3 separate regions of the Homo sapiens genome follow, and all the other regions are linked to region 1. Evidence: promoter capture Hi-C in 16 types of primary human blood cells and fetal thymus (Javierre and others, 2016). All regions are on one chromosome and are shown on one strand. Each heading gives the region's core, a stretch centred on a gene start or on the middle of the fragment in contact. The rest is flanking DNA. Distances are from core to core; before and after follow the strand shown. Region 1 holds the start of SCGB1D4 (secretoglobin family 1D member 4). Region 2 holds the start of SCGB1D1 (secretoglobin family 1D member 1). Region 3 holds the start of SCGB2A1 (secretoglobin family 2A member 1).

Evidence for each region. The method cuts DNA at HindIII sites, captures the fragments that hold promoters and counts their contacts. A CHiCAGO score of 5 or more calls a contact.
Region 2: a contact is called between the fragment with the promoter of SCGB1D1 here and the fragment with the promoter of SCGB1D4 in region 1, in 5 of 17 cell types (M1 macrophages, endothelial precursors, M0 macrophages and 2 more). The highest score is 11.6, in M1 macrophages.
Region 3: a contact is called between the fragment with the promoter of SCGB2A1 here and the fragment with the promoter of SCGB1D4 in region 1, in 12 of 17 cell types (endothelial precursors, M2 macrophages, M1 macrophages and 9 more). The highest score is 15.5, in endothelial precursors.

Annotation. Positions count from the first base shown.
Region 1 is chr11:62,297,362-62,300,970 of GRCh38, forward strand. SCGB1D4 (secretoglobin family 1D member 4) reads right to left here and starts at 1,714. Exons shown (of 3, transcript NM_206998.2): 1 at 1,595-1,714; 2 at 111-297. The coding sequence starts at 1,649. The HindIII fragment of the contact is 1,500 bases long and covers 886-2,385 here.
Region 2 is chr11:62,188,654-62,192,262 of GRCh38, forward strand. SCGB1D1 (secretoglobin family 1D member 1) reads left to right here and starts at 1,563. Exons shown (of 3, transcript NM_006552.2): 1 at 1,563-1,686; 2 at 3,403-3,590. The coding sequence starts at 1,632. The HindIII fragment of the contact is 8,999 bases long and covers 1-2,801 here.
Region 3 is chr11:62,207,038-62,210,646 of GRCh38, forward strand. SCGB2A1 (secretoglobin family 2A member 1) reads left to right here and starts at 1,636. Exons shown (of 3, transcript NM_002407.3): 1 at 1,636-1,749; 2 at 3,376-3,563. The coding sequence starts at 1,695. The HindIII fragment of the contact is 6,226 bases long and covers 709-3,609 here.

The DNA.
Region 1 (3,609 bases), core at 464-2,963:
AGCACACTCTGGGGACACAGCATCCAGGCAGGTGACCTGACAAGAAACATGCAGGAGGCTGTGTGCAGCTGAGTTGAATTCTGCCTCTGCATAAAGGAGAAAGAAATTACCAGGACTTTTTCAATGAGAGTCGTTTCTTAAAAGATATCTGATCGGTGCAGTGCTTCACTTCCAACTTGGCTGCAAGAGCTTCTGGAGGTGGATTAAGTTTGGCAACTTGGAGGTTTACCGCAGCGTCACTTAAGAATAAGAAGACTGTGATCTCAGAAGCAACAGCTGGGCAGACAAGAGCATGGGCTGCAGCACAAAAATAAAAATATTGTTGATGTTAGGAAAGTCGATTTTTCTCTCATGGCTCCCTGAGGTTACACCAGACAGGATCCCCTGGGTTCTATGTTTCTATACCATTATTGTGCTGATGACAATACCAGAAACTCCAGGTGTGACTTTCTCCGGGTCACACAACAAAGGGAAGAGCTTCATATCCTCAGCTAGACTTCTTTTTCTTTTTTTTGAGATAGGTTCACCCAGACTGGAATGCAGTGGCACAATCTCGGCTCACTGCAGCCTGAATGTCTTGGGCTCAAGCGATCCTCCCTCAGCCCCCAAAGTAGCTGAGACTACCAGTGCCTGCCACCATGCCCGCTTTTGTGTGTGTGTGTGTGTGTGTGTGTGTGTGTGTGTGTTTTGTTTTGTTTTTTTTTTTTGTAGAGATGGGGTTTCGCCATGTTGCCCAGGCTGGTGCTGAACTCCTGAGCTCAAGTGATCTGCCCACTGTGGCCTCCCAAAGTGCTAAGATTACAGGAATGAGACACCATGCCTGGCCCACAGCTTGACTCTTGACAACCATAACCTTACTTCATTCTCATAGCCACTCCTGGCAGAAGCTTTAACCACCAGTGATAAGAGGAGGCTCAAGGAGGGTGAGCATTGTGCCCAAGATCAAGGGGTGGGAAGTGTCGAAGCCCAGGTTCACCCCAGACCTCACATTACATCATCTGACACAGATCCCATTCAGAAGTGAAGCTCAGGCAGAAGAATTCCTAACATTTGCCTGAACTGATTTTTCTATAAAACTTCTTAGATACTGGGGATTAGAAGAAATAGCTCTAAGCAGCCAGGCGCAGTAGCTCATGCCTGTTATCCCAGCACTTTAGGAGGCCGAGGCGGGCAGATCATCTGAGGTCGGGAGTTCGAGACCAGCCTGACCAACATGGAGAAACCCCATCTCTACTAAAAATACAAAATTAGCCAGCTGTGGTGGCCCATGCCTGTAATCCCAGCTGCTCAGGAAGGCTGAGGCAGGAGAATCACTTGAACCCCGGAGGCAGAGGTTGCAGTGAGCCAAGATCATGCCACTGCACTCCAGCCTGGGCAACAAGAGCAAAACTTCTCAAAAAAAAAAAAAAAAAAAGGAAGAAGAAAGAAGAAATAGCTCTAACCTTTATGAATCTTATTCAACAAGCACAGAAAAGGGTTTGGAATTTTGTTTGGTTTTGTGCAGACCCCAACCCAAAGCACAAATAGGTGATCTTGTGCTCAGAAGAGGGTGCATCCCAGGGGCTGGTGCTGGACTCATGACTGATGTACTCACCCTGGTAGCAGCAAAGGGCCAGCGAGACCATCAGGAGACACACTGACAGCCTCATGGTGGCTTATTCGGCTGTGAGCTCAGCTTTCACAATGAGTGATTTGGATTCGACTCCAGGAGCCTGTGTAGTCATGGAGGCCAGGGCTATTTGTACCTAGGGAGCCTGGCTGGTCCTACCTACCGGGGCACCTGGTAGGTCATGAGGCCTGGCTCCCAGCCCGCCCTTCCAAGCCAGGGCTGCTGCCGTCCATCAATGTCACCTCCTTAGGAATCTCTGCATCTGAGTGGGGCGGAGCACAAGACAGCAGCCTTGTGAGAACTCTGCTCTGTGCTCCAGGTGAGTGTTCAGGTACATCTGGAAATGTTCCTGGGATCCTCAATTTCCTTATGAGCTTTTGCTGATTAGTTCTTTTTATCTTTGTAGCAGTGCAGGGGCACAGGTGAATTATGGCTTCACAAGGCACAGGAAGCTGGAAGGCTGTGTTCTCTTTATGGGAGAGCAGGGACATAAGGAGACCCTGCTTTGATCCCCCTGCATGTCTGACAACAAGCAGGCTTGTTTCAGTTGCACATTGGGAAAGTCTAATCCTTCCCCTCAGCCCCTTCCATCACCACCATGTTCACTGCATAGGTACTGAAAACATAGTTGAATACATCCCACCTGTAGAAGATATGCTGAGGAAAAACATCTGCTGCACCTGTTCTCTAGCCTGCCTCACTCCCAAACCTGAATCTTGTTTATACGTGCAGTTATATATATGGCCAAGATTCACATTTTCTATCTATAAAAAGCAAGCTTTCTGTGATGTGTAGCCACCCACGTCTTATCTTAGGGCTGATCTGAAGATTAAATAACCTAACTCTTTTTCTCAAGAGCTTTTGGAGTGTTCAGAGCCAATCATACATCAGTGGGGCTCTAGGCTGGGAAGATAATAGAAGGGAAGAGACAGAGGAACAGGGTGGGTGGTCACTTCCCCCTAACCCCTAGGCTCAAGTTTTCCACTTCAAACCTATCTGTGCTGCCTGGGCCAATCCCATTTTTAAGGGAAAGTGAAGGAAGCCCCCAGACAAAGCAATACACACCCGCCTTCCCTCCCATTGCCGTGCCTTCATGTGGTGTGAGTTTAATCACCAGAAATTTTTCTCTTAAATAAACTTACATTTGAGAGGAGTCACAGCCCAGGCCATAGCTTTCCATTCTCAGCTATGTAGTCAAATCACTTGGAGCTTTTAAAACATACTGACCCCACAGGCTTCTCTCTCTGGCGATTTTGATTCAGTAGCATTGGGGTGAATCCCTCCTTTCTGTACTGTTTAAACTGCTCTGGTGTTTCTCACAGACAGCAGGGCTGAGATCCAGCCAGGAAAACCTTTAAGAAGGAAGGGGACCTTACGGGTTTTGTCATCAAAGACACATTGACAGATTTAGTTGAGTCCAAGCTGAGGGCAACAGTGGATCTCACTTTCATCACACAGGATGACGACGGAGTCCCTGAATCAGCCCTGCTGCCACCAAGGAGGGGGAGGGTTGGTGGTGAGGTTTACAGCTATGAGGGTTCAGATCCTCATTTATGGGCTCCTGGACCTTAGGAAAATTATTCAGTTTATGTAACCCCAGTTTTCTCATTTGTCAAAGTAGGCTACTAATGGTGCCTACATCATTGGGTTGATAGATGATCAAATGAGTGTGTTCATGGGTGTGTGTGTGTTTAAAATATACCAAGTTCTGGTACATAGTAGTTCTCAATGTAAACTGCCATTATCTTGTCCCATTTGTCATATATGTCATGGTTTGCCAGTAGTTCCTAGTTTAGAGCACAGCCAAAATCCACTAAATCACCTACTTGCAGAACTACACGGACACCTAGATACACCATTTCTCTTTGACATAAATGGAAAAGGAAACCCAGCTCATGGTCTTGGAGGCTGCAAACCCATGAATATGGGCTTCAGGACTGAGGCCTCTTTTGCAGTAGACAGGTCTGTGAAGCATCCACCCTTTTTGTGGATGAGAGTTT
Region 2 (3,609 bases), core at 313-2,812, 110 kb before region 1:
CCATTTTTAACCTACTTTTACAAACGAGAAAACTGTGTTTACATAAACTAATTTTCAGAGGGTTCAATAGCCCATAGACATGGATCTGAACCCTCCTAGCCATGGGCTTTGCCACTGGACCTTCCACTCCTTAGGGTTGGAGGCAGAGGTGGCATCAGGGGCTTCCCCACCATTTTGGGTGATGGAAGTGAGAGGCATTGTCGCCCTCAGCTGGGACTCAGCCAGACCTGCCAAGGTGTCTCTGATGACACAGACCATAAGGTCCGCTTCCTTCATAAAGGTCTTTCTGGGTGGTTCTCAGTACTGCTGCCCATCAGACCCACCAGAGCAGTTTAAACAGAAGAGGACCTCGCCCTAGAACTACTGAATCAAAATCCCCAGAAAGGGAAGCAGCCTGCGGGGAGTCAGTATAGTTTAAGAGCCCCAAGTGATTTGATTGCAGAGCAGAGAATGGAAAGCTCTGGCCTGGGCTGTGACTGTTCTCAAATGTGTGTTCACTTAAGAGCCAAATTTCTGGTGATTTCCTACTCACCAAATGATGGCACTGCAGTGGAAGGGCAGAAGGGTGTCTATTGCTTTTGCTGGGGATGGCCTTCGCTTTCCATCAACAATGAGATGACCCAGGCAGCAGAGCTGGGTTAGAAGTGGAAAACTTGAGCCCAGAGGTTAGAGGGAAGTGACCACCCACCCTGTTCATCCATCTCTTCCTTTCCATTATCGTCCCTGCCTAGAAGCGAAGACCAGTATTTCTGATGCCTGTTTGCCTCCAGACACCCCAGCAGCTCCTTGGGTAAAAAAAGTTGGGCAATTTAATCATCCCATCAGCCCTATGAGGAGATATGGGTGGCTAGAGGTCACTGGAGGCTTGCTTTTAGTAGACAGAAAATTTGAACCTGTGCTATGTTGACAACTCCACCCATAAATAAAGACACAGATCTTGGAGTGAGACAGAGTAGAGGACAGGGGGAGTGGTTGTTTTCCCCAAGGAAATCCTCCAAAGGTGGGGTGTATGCAGCTATGTTTTAGGTACCTATGTGGTGAAGATGGTGGGGATGGAAGGGGCTGAGTGGGAGGATAGGTCTGGTTCAGACTTGATCTATGTGCAGCTGAAACACGTGTGGCTGATTGTCAGACATGCAGTGGAGGTCAAAGTGGGGTCTCTTCTGTGCCTGCTCTCCTATAACCAAACCACAGCCCCTAGCTTCCTGCACCCCCGGTTTCTGTCCTCCTGAAATGAGAACTCACATTTGCCCTTGCACTGACATAAAGAACAGAGAGATAATCCTCAAAAGCCCAAAAGCAAACTGAGGTTCCAGGGAACATTGCCAGAGGCACCTGGACACTCACCTGGAGCACAGAGCAGAGTTTCTGCAGGGCTGCCCTCCCGTGCTCCGCCCCACTCAGGATGCAGGGAGGTGTGGGGATGTGACACTGATGGATGGCAGCAGCCCTGGCTAGGAAGGGAGGGCTGGAAGCCAGGCCTCATCACCTGCCAGATGCCCATGTGGGCAGGACCAGCCAGGCTCCCTAGGTACAAATAGCCCTGGGCTCCACGGCTCCACAGGCTCCCGGGGCTGAGTCTAAATCACTCATCATTGGTTAAAGCCGAGCTCACAGCAGAATAAGCCACCATGAGGCTGTCGGTGTGTCTCCTGCTGCTCACGCTGGCCCTTTGCTGCTACCGGGGTGAGTACATCAGTCATGAGTCCAGCACCAGCCCTTGGGACACACCCTTCTCTGAGCACGAGGTCACCTATTAAGGTTAAGGTTGGGGTCTGGAACAAACCAAAATTCCAAACCTTATCCTGTGCTTGTTGAAGGAACTGCTCATAAAGCTCGGGCCTCATTTCATCAAATCCCCAGTACCTAGGAAGTTTTGCAGAAAATCAATGCAGGCGAACGTTAGGAATTCTGCCTGAGCTTCACTCTTGGATGGGATCTGTGTCAGATGATGTAATGTGAGGTCTGGGGTGACTCTGGGCTCAGCCACTTCTCAGCCCTTTCACCGTGGGCAAGATGCTCACCCTCCCCGCGCCTCCTCCTATCTCTGGTGCTTAGAGCTTCTTCCGGGAGTGGCAATGGGAATGGAGTGGGATTATTGTGCCAAGGGTCTAGCTGTGGATGTGAAGCCAATCACTGTACTGTCAGACATTCTCGTCCCCAGACCTTTAGGTGCCAATTGAGCTCACAGCTTCTTACATTGTAAATTCAGACTCATAAAATGTTACATCTCGAAGGATCCTTGGAGAACTCTCAGTCCAAGAAGAGATGGTGCTTTCTGATTCTCTCAATAAGAAGCCTGCAAATGAATTCTTAGAATAAGCAGCACTCAATATATCTTCTAGGGGTCCTACCGTAATGGTGGTAGAAATACTACAATGGTTAGCCTCAGAACTTCTATTTTTCTAAAATTAATTCTGGCTGATTTTTCCCCAGTTCATTTGGGTACTTTCCTTTCCCCTGTCAGGACCGATCCAGACTCTGATTTTTCTCTTTCCTCTTCTTTTCTGAACCTCTCCCTGTTTCCCTGTGACACCCCGATCCTACCCTCTCCAAATTCTCCCCACAGTTTGAAGTCGGGTAGTCAGGGGTCATGTTGAGCATGGTGGGGCGCTTTCTGGATGCATGGTGTTTGCAAAAGACTTAGGTGAATGGAGATTCCAGACCAAGCAAAATGATTACTCCAGGTCTTTCCAAAATTCCCAGTGGGAGCAGGAATGAGCCTCAGTTCCCTCCTCTCATCCTCTCCAAATATTCTAGATGCTGCTGCAGAATATGGGCCAAGTACAATTTCCTGTATAAGCTTCTAATGTGTGTTAAAACTGATTCACATTATTTTATTTTGTTTTAATTTGTTTACCTTTTAGCTCTGTCTGTATTGAATCACATAAGCCTAAATTCTACAACTTGTTCTCAAAACATCACCTTCAACATTTCAATAATTTTAACTTCTTCTGTTCCAGATTTACTCATTTCTCTAATTTCTGATAGGATTCTGACTCTACCATTCCACTTCAAAATTTGATTACTCAAAGCCTCCTCTTCACCAATGTCCAAGACTAATAAAGTGTCACTTAACTGGCATAGAAAAGTGATTATTTTCAAATCTAGAAAAGAGAACGTTGGCCATCCATCCAGAGAAGCTTTGGAAAGTAATGAGTGTGCTTTAAAAAAAAAACAAAGACTGAATGAGTGATCAGGAAGTTGGTTCTCCAGTTCTAGCTCTACCCTTTGCTGTGTGACCTCAAGGAAGTCACAACCTCCTGGGTCTGACATTGTCATTGGCATAGTTATTGAATAGAAGCCTAAAACCCTGGGGTTCCTGTCTGGTCTGACATCAGGGAGGCATGGGAGAAACACTGATTTCCTTACACAAATTATATTTTTATTCTTTTGCTCCAGCAAATGCAGTGGTCTGCCAAGCTCTTGGTTCTGAAATCACAGGCTTCTTATTAGCTGGAAAACCTGTGTTCAAGTTCCAACTTGCCAAATTTAAGGCACCTCTGGAAGCTGTTGCAGCCAAGATGGAAGTGAAGAAATGCGTGGATACGATGGCCTATGAGAAAAGAGTGCTAATTACAAAAACATTGGTAATTTCTGTCTCTTTCA
Region 3 (3,609 bases), core at 386-2,885, 90 kb before region 1:
CTCAAAAAAAAAAATTTACAGAGTATCTCTCATCTTTACAAAAATTCACGGCCAGGCGGGCACGGTGGCTCACACCTGTAATCTCAGCACTTTGGGAGGCCGAGGTGGGTGGATCACCTGAGGTCAGGAGTTCGAGACCAGCCTGGCCAACATGGAGAAACTCCGTCTCTACTAAAAATACGAAAATTAGCCGGGCCTCGTGCCACATGCCTGTAATCCCAGCTACTCAGAAGGTTGAGGCAGGAGAATCGCTTGAACTCGGGAGGCGGAGGTTGCAGTGAGCCAAGATCGTGCCACTGAACTCCAGCCTGGGCAACAGGGCAAGACTCTGTCTCGAAAAAAAAAAAAATTCAGCATCACTTATACCCGTTTCACAAAGACAGAAAGGAAGCCCAGAGGGACCAGCATTGTAATTTGCCCAAAGACACAGCATGAGTACGTGTGGCCTCCAGGATCCACACCCACACCTGCCCAAATCTTATCACCTAAATCTCATCATCACCCAACCCCATTGCCACCCACTGCCTAGCACTGCCTGCCCAAGCAGTCAGTTACTCCACTCACTCACAGCATCCTCTCAGTCAGTGGATAGAAAACCGTAAAAGGCTAACAAAGAACTAAGCACAAATTAAATTATAAATATATTGTAAAATAAATTTGTAAAGTTGAATTAACTTAGTGTTGTAATTCTTAACAAGAATAACAAGAAGCTTTCAGTAGAGGTTAGATATTAATGTTTTCCCCAAAACTTAAAGCACTTTTCGGGGCTGGGCATGGTGGCTCACGCCTGTAATCCCAGCACTTTGGGAGGCTGAGTGAGGTGGATCTCCTGAGGTCAGAAGTTCGAGACCAGCCTGGCCAAAATGGTGAAACCCTGTCTCTACTAAAAATACAAAAATTAGCCAGGTGTCCTGGCGCATGCCTGTAATCCCAGCTACCCAGGAGGCTGAGGCAGGAGAATTTCTGGAACCCGGGAGGCGGAGGCTGCAGTGAGCCAAGATCGCACCACTGCACTCCAGCCTGGGCAATAGAGTGAGACTCTGTCTCAAAACAACAACAACAACAGCAACAAAACCCCAAAAAACAAAAACAAAAAAACCCGCTTTTCTGAAAAAGAAATGTCTATGGATTAGGAAGGTCTGCCTCCCATAGGAAGATGCAGGTATTGCACATAGCCCAAATATTTGATGATTCCAGGACCGGCAGATACACAAGTTATGAAACTGTTTGTACCTTGAAGAATAACGAGAAGAGGAGGAGACCAAGAGGAATAGAAGAAAAAGAATAGAAGGAGGAGGAGGAAGAAGGGAAGGAGGACTAGAAGAAAACTACAATAATAACAACATTGTTGAGACCACAAGATCACGCCACTGGGTTTTGCTTTATATTTTGGAAAACACTGTCACATCCATTTTACTAAAAGCCATGTATCATTATTGTAGTCCCCAGATTGTCAGGGATCCAAATATTACTGCCTTCTTGGTTTCTACAAACAGAGCACAGGCTGGCTGTGTTCCCATTGGTGTACACTATTGTGTCCTGGTCCCATGCCAGGTTGACACATTGCCTCATTCCTGGGAGGGACTAAGGTGCCTCCCTGGGGAATAAATAGAGCAGGGCTGGGTACTCACCTCCACAGCAACTTCCTTGATCCCTGCCACGCACGACTGAACACAGACAGCAGCCGCCTCGCCATGAAGCTGCTGATGGTCCTCATGCTGGCGGCCCTCCTCCTGCACTGCTATGCAGGTGAGTTCTGGGCAGAGAGGGCTGCTTCTGGGCTAGGAATTGTCACCTGGGCCCCTGTAGAAGAACTCCCAACCTCTAATCCCCAGCACAGACGAGCCCCAGTGTGAAGGGCCTGGGTGCGATAGGCCTTAGGATCCCCATGAGTTCCTGACAATCAAGCATGCAGTGTCCTCATGGGCTGTCCCCTGCATTGGAGCTGCACACAGTGTATCATGGCACTCAGCGTCTCACCATGGTCACGGTGACCATAGAAACCAGGATGAGTCTCAGGATTAAATATTGAAATGAACTATTTCAGTGGGGCAAGGGAGAGATGGCATCTACACCTAGAAATCAGGAAATAATCATGGGTCTCCTTGAATATGGAACGAAATAGGAAACCTCCCAGGACAGAAGGCCCAGGCTGCAGAGTGTGACCCAGTGTCTCTCACCCTGTGTGGCTCACTCTGTGTTCTCAGAGTTGATCTGGGTCCTTCTGGGATGCCCTTACCCTCCCAGTTGCTTCAGGCTCAAGGCAGACAGGTGAGAACTCACAACCCCTGGAGTCTCCTTCCAGCACTAAAGATTCAGTGGGAGGAAAAAGCCCCGGCTGCTGGAATCAGCGCTAATATTTCCATAGGTAGCCTGCCTTGTGCAGTTCACAAAGGTGGATTCCAAACCCTACCGTATTGGCATCCAAGGTAGGTGCAGATGTGTAGAAGGGTGACAAGCTCACAGTCAACTAACTGGAAAATCACAAAGTCCAGAGCACAACCAGCTCACATGAAGCCACGTCCTGAGCTCGTTCCTCTCCCTTACAGTGGGAGGTGACCTCAGATCCCCTCATGAACAAGCTCTATTTCACATTCATGTGTGTGTGTGTGTGTGTGTGTGTGTGTGTGTGTGTGTGTGTTTGAGACAGGGTCTTGCTCTGTCACCCAGGCTGGGACTGGGACTGGTGTGCAATGGCACAGTCTCAGCTCACTGCAACCTCTTCCTCGAAGGCTCAAGTAATGCTCCTGCCTCAGCCTCCCGAGTAGCTGGGACTACAGGTGGACACCACTATGCCTGGCTAATTTTTAAATTTTTTGTAGAGATGAGGTCTCCCTGTGTTGTCCAGGCTGGTCTTAAACTCCTGAGCTCAAGCAATTCGCCTGCCTTGGCCTCCCTAAGTGCTGGGATTACAGGCGTGAGCCACCATACCTGGCCACACATTCCCTTTTATTGCAGTAGAGTCAACAGAACTAATGGACAATGTCCTAGACCCATTCATCTGAAATCCTTGGAAACCCTACCTGATGCTGGGCATGATAACAGGGAAGCATTGCATGACTTTGAACCAAGAAAGTCCAAGTAGTGTTTGCTATGTCCCCCCAGTCAGAACACCTCATTTCTCGAGGGTCCTCTTCACCAAGAATACACAGGGTTGGGCTTCTCTGGGTTTGGAAGGTCAGAGAGAATTTGCAGAGCCTGAGTTTACACTCCCAGAATTGAGAACTCTGCATACTGCACCAAAATCTTTCTGAACCTCGGTCTGTCCCTGGAGGTACGAAGATAGCCAGCTTCCCAATTCATCTGTAGAATGAATCACACCTCTAGTAATGGCCCATGTTCTTGTGTCTTTTTTTTTTTTTTTTTTTTTTCCAGATTCTGGCTGCAAACTCCTGGAGGACATGGTTGAAAAGACCATCAATTCCGACATATCTATACCTGAATACAAAGAGCTTCTTCAAGAGTTCATAGACAGTGATGCCGCTGCAGAGGCTATGGGGAAATTCAAGCAGTGTTTCCTCAACCAGTCACATAGAACTCTGAAAAACTTTGGACTGATGATGGTAATTTGGGTTTCTTCTTATGTACCCTTTGAAAATCACTGATCAG